2 separate regions of the Homo sapiens genome follow, and region 2 is linked to region 1. The links are contacts of gene promoters, found by promoter capture Hi-C in blood cells and fetal thymus (Javierre and others, 2016). All regions are on one chromosome and are shown on one strand. The core of a region is centred on a gene start or on the middle of the fragment in contact, and the rest is flanking DNA. Distances in the headings are between cores, read along the strand shown.

Evidence for each region. The method cuts DNA at HindIII sites, captures the fragments that hold promoters and counts their contacts. A CHiCAGO score of 5 or more calls a contact.
Region 2: a fragment that was not itself captured here is called in contact with the fragment with the promoter of DLC1 in region 1 in 1 of 17 cell types (endothelial precursors); the score reaches 5.2 in endothelial precursors.

What each region holds. Positions count from the first base shown.
Region 1 is chr8:13,513,237-13,519,280 of GRCh38, forward strand. It overlaps DLC1 (DLC1 Rho GTPase activating protein), which reads right to left and starts at 1,615. Exons shown (of 18, transcript NM_182643.3): 1 at 1,366-1,615. The HindIII fragment of the contact is 2,152 bases long and covers 840-2,991 here.
Region 2 is chr8:12,858,985-12,865,633 of GRCh38, forward strand. It overlaps LOC105379289 (a long non-coding RNA gene), which reads left to right and starts at 6,482. Exons shown (of 3, transcript XR_949509.3): 1 at 6,482-6,649. The HindIII fragment of the contact is 1,034 bases long and covers 3,477-4,510 here.

The sequences.
Region 1 (6,044 bases), core at 365-2,864:
TCTTATGTTCTTTCCTTCTCTGAAATTCCATTTGGAGATTTTAATTAAATCATAATTTAGATAAGTCAGTATTTTATCTTCCACATATATAAAAAGTAGATTCTTTTTCTCATATTTAAGAAGTTTTAACACAAATTGTCAGTGAATAGTTAAAATTTATCAATATAAGTTATTCTAGCATAAAATTTGAGAATAGCTAATATAGCAGATGGTCACCTTGTACTATATAAAAACTTATAATGAAAACAGTTACTTCATTTCTTATGATCCAACTGTCAAAATAGCTCTCCATCTTTCACTTAGTATATTTTGTATTCATCTAATAGATTTGAAAATGTACATGAATATTTCTTCCCTTTATGTACCATTTTATTTCTATAAAATGATGAATTTTATTATAAATATTCAGAAATATAACAGTATCTTATGCATTATAAGTCCACACTTTTTCGGTCATTACTAAACTTCTTTTCTAATATATTGTACATTTAAACATTTAAGATTACCTTGAAGAGACTACAGTCAGGTGGAAATGTAATTTTACGATTACATAAGTAAGGACACAAACAGTTTCCATATGACTGGAGTGATTTCTGGCTGCCTTAAAAGAGTTATAATGAGTGTCAGTGTCATTGAGATTGACTTCAGTTATTCAAAATATTACACAAAATGTGACCGGAGCAAGCAGTGAATCCAGGAAAATTAATATAAACTAAATTCGATTCCGACATTTAAATTTCCAAAACTCAGATTAAATACTATTTAGGACAGAAATAATTCCTGAAATTTCACGTGTTTACTTTTTTTTTTTAAATGAACCTTTTAAGCTGTACAGGAGAAGCTTGACATATGATTGAAACTGGCTTGGGTAAAATAATAAGAAATTCAATCTTCGTAGTTTTAAATGAGACACAAAATACTCTTTGGAGACTGATTATTAAGCACAAGTCACTCGGGTGCTTTCTACTCTCCCTGTTGGCAAAGGAAGGTAGGGGAGGAATTCATTTACACCTCACACTGATGTGTGAGAAAATGTATTTGTTTCACGTTATGCCAAGAAATAGGAAAACTGATCCGACAGCTCAATTAATAAATAAGTTAAACGTAAAAAGGGATAAAAATAAAATCTTACTTTATGGAGGAAAAGAGTTAAATCTATATGGAGCCTGTTTTAGAACTGACAGTTTGCTAAAACGAATTGACTCAGAATTTTCTACTTATCAAACATTTTCCACTTCTGATTTTATGGCTTTGCTCTAAAACCTAGGAAGTCACCAACTCCGTGCAAGATGCTAACATTTATCTCAATCTTTCTGCCTCTTCAAAGACCGCCTCAAAGCATAAAGATAGTCCATAGCGTCTTACCTAGACAACGAGGAGCTGAAACGCCAAGGCATGACACTGCTCAACACTCAGGCTAGGAAAGAAGTCCGTCCCCGTTAGTTTCTCCAAAATCTAAGTTCCCATTTCGTGGTTGAGATCATGGCTCTATTCTGAGCAGTTTCACGCAGTGTGTGAGTCTAACAAAAACACCCTCTGCAGCTGGAGGGAGCCTTAGCTAAGGCAGGATCCTGTCAAGGCATTCCTAGTGACTTCTGTCTACTAAATTCAGACTGAGGTTTTGCAAAAGGGGCCTCCACAACCAGGCCCAGATTGCCTGGAAAGTATTTCCTGCCTCTGAGGAGTGTGCATGCTAGAAAGGCTGTACGAAGAGAGGGGAGGAGGGGAGAGCCCAGCCGCCTGGGCGTTTTAGGAGTTCTGATTTTACACAGAACTCAAGTGAGTTTTGTCAAAGCTCTTGAGGTGATTAGCTGTAGAGTCATAAAGTCCTAGAGCTTTTTCTATCCCACACTGCTTATGAAAAAAGAAAGAAAGAAAGAAAGAAAACGTAGTTTTCTCTCTATCCACAACCTTTCCACTATATTAAATGTATATGCACAGCTTAATCAAAATGCCTGTGCTTGCTCTCATTTCAAAAGATCTTTTAAGAGAGCAAGATGAATTTAGCCTTAATACCATAATTCTTCTAAATGGCAAAACCTTTTTTGAACATGACTTAAAATTGGAAATGCTGCAGCTTTTCATTCTGTCCCTGAGACCATCTGTAAGTAAAATCCCAAGCATCCAGTTAATAGAACGATTTCTTCCAGATCTCTCTGATCACAAGAATCCTTCACAGAATTAAAATAGTTCGTGTTATGGCAAATGCAGCAGCGCATTACCTCTAGTCAGAATCCTCCAGTTACAAAAATCCAGTGCTGGAGCAGAAGACAGGCTCCATCTTGATCGTATTAGAGTCTTGCTGACATTAAACACTTACAACTGCTTCCATCTAGCATGGCAGCGTTCCTGAATCACATCTCTAAAGCCGCTCATGGTATCTGCATCCTTCGTCCGTCACAAATTTTGTGAACTATCATCTGTTTATCTTTTCTGCTTTCTTGTGCCTCCCTTGAATGACTTCCTCCTAGCTGCTCCAGGTTGGGAATTTGGACTACCATTTGGTTTTGATTAAAACCAGACAGGCAACTCTGGAGAATTTAGGGAATAAGCTAATGGAAACTGCAAGTATGGCTTTAATTAGTGCATCAATTAATAATAGATGTTAGCTCGTCTTATAATAAGATATCACAAATACAAACACAGAGGAAGCTGAAGTCGTTTCAGGAAAAAAGTTACACCAATTTTCCTTCCTTTATGACCCAGAATCCTCTTTAGAGAATGTGGAAGGAAAGAAGAGGGAGGTGGTTTTGGGACATCCAGGCTGTGGAGAGGCCAGTAGAGCAGCTTCATTGTTTATACCAGGGAAGCAGGAAACAGCATCTCTGACTTTAATTATCTTGCTTGGTGGAAATGGCTCAGTCATGTCTCCCTTCTACTTTATTTACAATCAATGGATTTCGCTGCTATTTATGACTCAAGCATTTTTTTGGGGGGGGACTGATGATCAGATTAATTATTAGGTCTATCTGCTTCTTGCAAATTTCTAGAAGCTTTCAATAATAGGAAGTGCAAGAATAATTCCAGTTGGATGTGATAAAATGAGTAACATATAAAGAGGTAAAAGACATCTTAAACTTGTTGGCCCTAAGATCTATCCTGTTCTTCTCTGAAATTGTAAGTAGTTTTCATTGTTCACTGTTATTCTCCATCCCTGTATATCACAAGGGCTATCTTGTAGTACTTTTTGATAATATTGGGTAGGTGATAACTCAAAGATGCACAAGGTTCTAACTACTATTTTTTTCCTTATTAGGTAGCTAAAATCTCTCAAAGTTAATGCAAATCATGAACCATATTAGACCCATGTTAGATGGCAAGAATGACTTATACTGTGCATGAGTTTGAAGATGAGAAGTAGTCAAATAAAAACGTTTGGTCAGAAGCAGCTTTAAAAGTTTAGATCAAAGTCTTATTGACTAAAAACATGAGCATTTAGGTTTCTTTAATTTAATCTTCAACCATAGGCCAAGAAAGAAGTCTGTTCTTCCATAAATTCTTTAAAAAGTATTTATATTTATATTCAAAGTGTTTCTACTGACAGTATGCCTATTTAATCTTTCCAACAATTTTGCGTGTATTCATATGTTTTATTTTACAAATAAAGTATTGAGAAGCAATTTTCTCACAGTCAAATGATACAAAGTGCCCAGGTCCACACTGGAACTCAGATATTCTAGCTCCAAGCTTTGTGCTTTAATTTTTTCTCCATAAACTGCCTTCCTTGACTTCCACTTAATTTCTTTATTAAATTGGGAAGACTTCTTAAACTCTAATAGTTTCTCTTTAAAAATAGAGACAATTTCACATAACTTATAGATTGGAAAGCAGGATGAAATTTATATGCAGAAATATTTGTGTATTTATGTTTATTTCCCTAAGAAAAACACTGGAGAAGAAAGGAATGAGAACTGATATTATGTCTTTCCTAATATAACTTGATATCTCTATCTCTGTCACTGCCTTTAGTACTGATATACAGTGGTTACTCAATATTATATCAGCATCATGCTAATTCTTAGCTACATTTTATTCATGAATACTGTACCCCGCGCCATATACTTTAGTTTTGTTTCTATTTCTATTGGCTTGGGAAAACAAGAAAACTCTGTTCACAAATGCCTTTTAGATATCTAGAAACTCTTGTTAGTAAGTTTCTCATAAACATACCCTTTTCTACACAAAAAATACATTATGTTTTCTTCTATTAATAGGATTACTTCCCAAATCTTTAATTACTTATATTTATTTTTCATTGTTGAGTTGCTTGATTCCAAACAAATCTCAGATCTTATAGTCTTATAAAGGCTTTACCAAATATGAGTGTAAAGATAAATAGTGAGAAAACTTCCTAAGTACTTAGTATTGTGTCAGGAACACTGAAGGAGTTCAAAATATTTGTCCCCTTCTTTCTACTTGCAAATCTAAATACCAACTTCCTTAAATGTTTGACTGTTACTCTGTACTGGATCAGCTAATCAAATAAGGGGACAGGGACAGTTAAGAACTTGAAAACAAAGTATCAGGATAGGAGTCTGCTCCAAAACTAACAGCTTTTGTGACCTGTGTGAGTTACCTAACCGGGGTGAGGATGTCTTAGCTTCCATAACTAAGAATTGTCACAATGCAAAAAGCTAGTCCATATAAAGCCATTAGCTAGAATTATTTTTACCACTTAAATTATTGCCTTTTTTAATGTTTACATCTCTCTTTCAGGTATTTTTAGAATCTTTCTCTCTCTTCTATTGAACTCCAAGTTAAATGTATACATGTGAAACCGTTATAGTGGTGGAACAATTATGTACTCTGTGGAAAGAAGAATAGCAGGAGGTGGATTAAATGGTATTTTAAAGATCACCTTTCTTTTTTTTGTTTTTGTTTTTGTTTTTGAGACAGAGTCTGGCTCTGTTGCCCAGGCTGGAGTGCAGTGGTGGTGATCTCGGCTCAAGGCAACCTCCGCCTCCTAGGTTCAAGCAAATCTCCTGCCTCCATCTCCTGACTAGCTGGGATTACAGATGCACTCCACCACACTTGGCTAATTTCTGTATTTTTAGTAGAGACAGGGTTTCATCGTGTTGGCCAGGGTGGTCTTAAACTCCTGACCTCAAGTGATCTGCCTGCCTCGGCCTCCCAAAGTGCTGGGTTTAGAGGCGTGAGCCACTGTGCCTGGCCTAAAGATCTCTTTTCTACTTAGGTACTTTTACCTAAACAATAAACATTAGCTATGATCATTTATCTAGTCATTTCCCAATCATTTTCAGGAAAGTTGAATCTGGACTTCTGTACAGAATTATTCAGTGTCTCTCATGCAGTTCAAGAACATTTTATGTAAAGCAAGATCTATCCTTTGAAAATAGTGTTTTACTCTTTTATGAAATAAGTAGCAACATCATTAATTCAGTCACATTAGACATTTGTGATATTATGCGTGGAAGTCAGCTTTTATGTTTTCCATTTTTGTTAATGAATATGTTTATAATAGCAATGAACTTGAAATTAATATATAAAGAGAATAAATACCTTGAAAGTATTTTGAAATATCTACATGCATACAGTTAGTGTAATAAATGTTAAGAACACTTTGTCCATGAAAATTATTCGTCTAAAAATCTCTAAAAATTTGCTTGTAATTTATTGAAGTTACTGTATTGGAAACAATAAAAGTAGAATTTATCAGATTTTCTAATTTATTTTTTCAGTAAGCTTTACATGTGTTTTCTTTTTTTAAAAATATATTATCAAGAATTTTTTTATTATTTACTTTTTTTATTATACTATAAGTTCTAGGGTACATGTGCACAACATGCAGGTTTGTTACATATGTATACATGTGCCATGTTGGTGTGCTGCCCCCATCAACTCGTTATTTACATTAGGTATATCTCCTAATGCTATCCCTCCCCCCTCCCCAGATGTAGTCTCACTCTGTCGCCCAGGATGGAGTGCAGTGGCGCAATCTCGGCTCACTGCAAGCTCCGCCTCCTAGGTTCACGCCATTCTCCTGCCTCAGCCTCCCAAGTAGCTGGGACTACTGGCACCCGCCA
Region 2 (6,649 bases), core at 2,744-5,243, 650 kb before region 1:
GAAAAGATAAGAGAAAAAGAAAGAAAGAGAAAGAAGATTCAAACTTAGGTATAGCCAGTAGATGGAAACCAGTGTACTGTGTACTGTGCAGGTATGGTTCAATGTTTGACCCACTAACATGATATGGTCACCCTCTTCTTTGAAAACAACCTTTGAGATCATTGTCAAAATCTCTGAGCGGTACAAGTACAACCCGACTTCAAGACATGCTTGACCTGCTTAGAGAAAGGCTGGGACTCTCCCTGGAGATCAAAGTCATTCCGTGTCTCCTCCTTGTACCTTTTGGCTAAGTTACTCCTCTTGCCACGCATCAGGTGATCAGGGCCCTAGTATTCAGATGCAGCACGGGCCTCATGGAATTCTTATCCTGTGCGGTTTGCTTAAATATAAGAAGTATGCTGTTGTTGACTGAATTCTGTCGTCTCCACAAAAAATTCCTGTTTGAAGTCCTTAGAAAGTGACTGTATGTGGAGAGAGGAGCTTTGAAGAGGTAATTAAGGTTAAATGAGGTCCTATGGATGGGTCCTAATCCAATCCAATCTGACTGATGTCTATAAAAAGAGGGGATTGGAACATTGAGAGAGTCACCAGGGGCACATGTGCATATCAGGACCACCAGGTGAAGAGGCAGCAAGAGAAGAGTCATTTGCAAGCACAGGAGAGAGGCCTCAGAAGAACTCAACTCTGCCAGTACCCTGATCTTGGACTTTTAGCCTCCAGAACCAGGAGAAAATCAATTTCTATTTTTGAAGTCACCTAGTCTGGGCACTTTGCTATGGCAGCCTTGGCAAACTAATACGTGCAGCTTACTCTCAGAAAACTCCTGTTGCATTTAAAGGAAACTTAAAGAGGGCACACAGTAGAATTTAAAATTTGGGTACCTATATAAAATAATCAATGTGACAAGAAACAGTAGTCTCACAATGAAATAACTGTCACAACATTTTAAATTATAGGCAATGCACAAGAAGTTCACGATGCAGTGGCTGTGAGAATCCAGATACACTGAAACACATTCTGCGTCATCTAATTCTACCTCAAGACCATTTTGATTAATGATACAGCATCAGTGAAATTTGTGGTATAGAACCTTTTCTTGCATACATTTAAAGTCCTAGACTATTTATTTCTCTGTGGGTCACAATCTATGGGGTCCAGAAATGTCCACCATCTTTCAGGATTCATTCTCAACCTGCCAGAGCACAAATCACCCCATCTGGGTCTTTGAGAGGAGAAATACTTAACAAGTATAATTCTGTTTCCTTCCATGATTTCTAACTTGCCCTTAACTGCCTAGGCTTTGTCGTGAGCAATCGTTTCGTTGACTCACAAACAGTTTTACAACAGGGACATTTGCAAACTGGTAATTTTCAGTTAAAGAAAAAAATATACACAGCCATGTTCCACCACGCCCTTAAATAGCATGATGGTTTTCATACATGTAATTTATACTCCTAAACTCCTTGCATTTCTGTCACTTTGTAATAACATGAAAACAATTTGGGAGTCACATTCATCCACTAGCAGTAAAACTTCCTGTTCCCTTCATGATCTGACTTTATAGTCATCCCCATCAGTTCTCTAAAAACACAACATCTCTCAGTTAAATCTATGCATAAAATCTTAAGAACTCATATTGAAGCTGAGCTCGAGGATATAATAATGTTGCATCAAAACATAGATTCATTTCCTCAAAGTGAAGTTCAGGAGGCGTCACCCAGGAATAAGTTAGATTGTAAACACATGTAACTCACCCTCCAATTTTTTTCTCATTGTTTCTCTTAAACAGTTACTGTAACTCTTCTGAAATGAGAGCTAGGGACTAATCTTCCTTATGTTCACCAATAACGTAGCCTGCTATTTTTAACAGTTCGAAAAATTCTGATGCATATATTCCTACCACTAACCATAGTTGTACGAGATCAGGAGCTATTTTACTTGAATTTCTTCCATGAAATGTTGAATGGCAACTCTCTGGTTCCCAGGATGTGGAGAAAGGAACTCCTTCTGTCGATTTATAAACTGGAATTCAGTATCACCAACAGAGTCTGCAGCCCTGTGAATGGCCTAAGTCCTTCCTAGCTCTTTAGCATACTGAGAAGTTCCCAATTCACGGACAGAAACACCTATAACAGGTTGTCTATATTTTTAGTGTATTCCCATTTTCAAAGGTCCTAGCTGGTGAGTTTTGGGAAATACTGGGCCTTCAAACCCCCAGTGGGTCTTGATGATTTCCATCTTGTCGGACAGATGGACCACTAGTTACCATGGAAGATATAAGAGAAATCACCCATGGCTCAGGAGAATGGAGCTGATATTCCTTGAATTAGCTGTTCATTCACATATTCAGAACGATTTAGCTGTTTTGAATCAAGCTACAAGATGTTTGGTAGATTTATTTTAAACCATTCTCTTCTGGATATAATTTGCCAGGCCTTAACAGCTGCAATTTTTTCTATTTGGTGAACATTTTATTTAGCTTTCTCTTTTAAGGATGAAAATGCTAAATTTAAGCAGTGCTTACTTCTAGCATGAACAAGAAAAGTAGTAGTTGTATTAGTCTGTTTTCACACTGCTGATAAAGACATACCCAAGACTGGGCAATTTATAAGGAAAAAGAGCTTTAATGGACTCACAGTTCCACATGGCTAGGGAGGCCCCACAATCATGGTGGAGGGCAAAAGGCACATCTTACATGGCAGGCAAGAGAGAGAGATATGAGAGCCGAGTGAAAAGGGAAGCCTCCTATAAAACCATCAGCTCTCGTCAGACTTATTCACTACCATGAGAACAGTATGGGGAAACCGCCCCCATGATTTAATTAGCTCCCATCAGGTTCCTTCCATAACACATGGGAAATATGGAAGCTACAATTCGAAATGAGATTTGGGTGGGGACACAGCAAAACTGTATCAGTAGTGTATTTAATAATTGATTATTGAATGTTTCTCCCATCGGTTGCTGTCTCTGTTAGTTACCATATTCTCTCATAGGACCAACCTCAACTTCTGAATTACCCAACAGGGTACAGATAGTGTTCACTAAATCTTCAATAGCCACAATTTCTCAAAGTAGCTAATGGTTTTGACCACTCTCAGAAGCGTCTTTGAAACTCAAGTTGTTTATCACATCTATGTGACATTCACACTTTAATATCATTAAAGAGAATACTGGTCCCAATTTGAGCTAGTACCACCTAGGTGAGTTGTAACGTGCAAATAATCTTTACTCTTGGTATAAATCCATCTTGGGTGTCCCATGATGGACTATTGTAAGTGTGCAGAGGGTTACTTTTATAGCCTGATAAAGATTTCTCCTCATCTCTGATATATTGCATTTTGGTTGCCTCGAATTTGTCTGATGCATGGTGTGAAATTAAAATGTTAGTTGACAGTGTCGTTTTACACATGCACAGATCCTCCATTCCTATTCATTTCTCAGCACAGGTCAGGATTTTCACCTCTTTTGTGAAGGAAAGCTTTTACCTCATGTTTTATAAAGTTATAAATGCTCTGAACATAAATTCTCACACAACCCCTGTGGTTTCCGAGGCAAATCACAAACTTACAGAACAACATTGCTCTGCTTGATCTTGAATAGTAAAATATTTTATAGGAAACATAGAGCTAACTAGGGGAAGTAGTCATTTCTGCTGTAAAGACATGGCTTTATGGTCACAAAGGGATGAATTTTGGAGAGGGTGGTGGCCCTTTCTCACCCCAAGTTGGCATCTGCTTCTCAAAGAGAGGGGGCTGAGGTTATAACCTGAGCAGACAGGAATACTCACTTTGAGCAACTGTCTAGAGCTTTCAGAGCCAGCCATACAAACAGTCAAAATCTGATGCAGAAAGAGTACAAAACCCACAATGTAAAATAATGAGTAATATTTTTTAATACTGTGGTATCTGTTTCTGATTTAGGGTCAATCTTAGTTTACAAACTGAAGCGAGAAGACACGCAGGCTAGGAAACCATGGCACAGAAGATTAAGCGGTTTAACTCTGGTCAAGAAACTAGTAGCTGCTTAAGTAATTATTGTATCCAGTCTCCTTCCTTCTTCACACTGCACACTTGAATAACTGAGCTGCCGCAAGCAACCTGACCTTCAGAAGTAGATGGGTCTGCCTCTATCAAGATTGCATGCATTCAGAGCCAAAGAAAATACAAAACTGTCCAACACTTCAAGAAGGGAGAAGAAACATTAGGAGAAATATCTAATGTAGATAATATGTTGATCGGTGCAGCAAACCACCATGGCACGTGTATACCTATGTAACAAACCTGCACATTCTGCATATGTATCCCAGAACTTAAAGTATTAAAAAAACTATAATTTCTACCTTTTTGACTGTACCATCCCATCATTTTCATCAGCTTAATAAATGTCAAAACAAATTTGATTGTTTTCAAATTTTTAGCCAAACTGGAGGAAAATATTGACTAGTCCCCACCTCGGAACAGAATTATGGACTCTCACTATTTTCTCTTTTATCATCTCTACCAACAATGTAAGCTTATCTAGACCCATGTGCATGATTGAAAGAAGAAGGTACATTTTTATTGTGGTAAAACATACATTAACATGAAATTTACCATGTAAATCATTTTGAAGTGTACAATTCATTGGCATTAACTACATTCACGTTGTTACGCAATCATTATCACCACCCATTTCTAGAACTTTTTCATCATCCCAAACAGAAACTGTACTCATTAAATAATAACTCCTGATTAATCTCTCCCCCCAACCACTGGTAACTTCTATTTTCCATCTCTGTGAATGTATCTATTCTAGGTACCTCATATAGGTGGAATCACACATTATTTGTCCTTTTGTGACCTACTTATTTCACATAATGTAGCACAATGTCTTCAATACTCACCTCTGTTGTAGCATGTGTAGCAGTGCACAAAGCTTCCAAGGTCTCCACATTCTCACCAACATTTATTTTCCATTTTTCGATACTAGCCTTCCTAATGAGTGTGAGAAGAAGGTATTTTATTTATTTATTTATTTATTTTGAGACAGAATTTGACTCTTGTCACCCAGGCTGGAGTGCAATGGCACGATCTCGGCTCACTGCAACCTCCGCCTCCCAGGTTCAAGTGATTCTCCTGTCTCAGCCTCCTGAGTAGCTGGGATTACAGGCACCTGCCACCATGCCTGACTAATTTTTTTTGTATTTAGGAGAGACGGGGTTTCACCATGTTAGTCCGGCTGGTCTCAAACTCCCGACCTCAGGTGATCCACCCGCCTCATCCTCCCAAAGTGCTGGGATTACAGGCATGCACCACCACGCCCTGCCAGAAGAACCCATCTTTTAACCCATTTTTGAGGTGGCCCCAGTGCTGCAAATATATTAATAGCTTAATACATTTTTTGGAGAGCCAAACAAATATGACTTGATGAGAAGTTTGCCATCTCTATCTCTTCATTAAGCCAGAGTAGCCACCCATAAAGTATATTTTGACAGAGGTTCTGGAATAAAGCCATGCCAGGGACAAGGGGTGAGAGGAAGCATCTGGCGGAAAGTCTCGCAAGTCCAAAATCTGTACAGCAAACCATCAGGCTGGAAATTCAGCAAGAGTTGAAGTTGAAGACCTGAATCCAAAATCTGCAGGCTGGACACCCAGGCAGTGTTTCTATATTGAAATCTTGAGGCAGAGTTTCTTCCTCTTTGGGATGCTTCAGTCTTTTCTCCTAAGACCTGATTGAATGAGGCCTACCCATATTATGAAGGGTAGTCTATTTTACTGAAAGTCTACTGATTTAAATGTTAAGTTTATTCTAAAAATACCTTCACAGCTACATCCAGTTTAGTGTTTGACCAAACATCTGGGTACCATAACCTAGTCAATTTGACATATTACATTGACCACAATAGAAGCTTCTACAATAGGAGATTTTACCCTAAGTTTACACTAAAAATGTAAAGAAGCTGAGCACAGTGGCTCACATCTGTTATCCCAGCACTTTGAGAGGCCTAAGTGGAGGTTACTTGAGTCCAGGAGTTCAAGGCCAACCTGGGCAACATAATCAGACCCCATCTCTAAAAAAAAAGAAAAAGAAAAACTAGTTAAGACTTTACATCAAGGACTCAACAGTAAAGACTAAGAACTTTATACTAATGTAAGACTTTATACTAAAAAAAAGCTTGTTTGTTTGTAATGGGGTTTTTAGATGTTACTTTTGTTCTCAATTACTGAAACTTTCAGGCATAAATTTGGGTTTTATAAATATTAGCAATTACCATGGGAGGGTCTTAACAAAATCATTTTTAAATGAATCCTTTACAAATCATTTAAAAACTTTTCTGCGAGGATTCTTGATGCTTCTATTCTTCTTCTTCAAATCAAAAAAACATCTACTGTCACAGACTTCGAACCATGCAGTATTTGCTTTGTGGATTGTTAGATCATAGAGAGTGTTTTCTAGTTTGATCAGAGGGTAGGGGGATTGGATATGCCTGGGGAAACTGAAGTTGAAAATGTGAGCCAGGTTGGGAGTTGAGTAGCAGGGCAAGAGTTTGGACTGGTTTGAAATGGGACGTTTAACTGATAGAACTGGAGATTGTTTGGCCTATAGGATTGGAGGGATAAACTTATTTGACAGCTATCGGCTTGTGGAGGACAGAATTTGAAAATCCTTC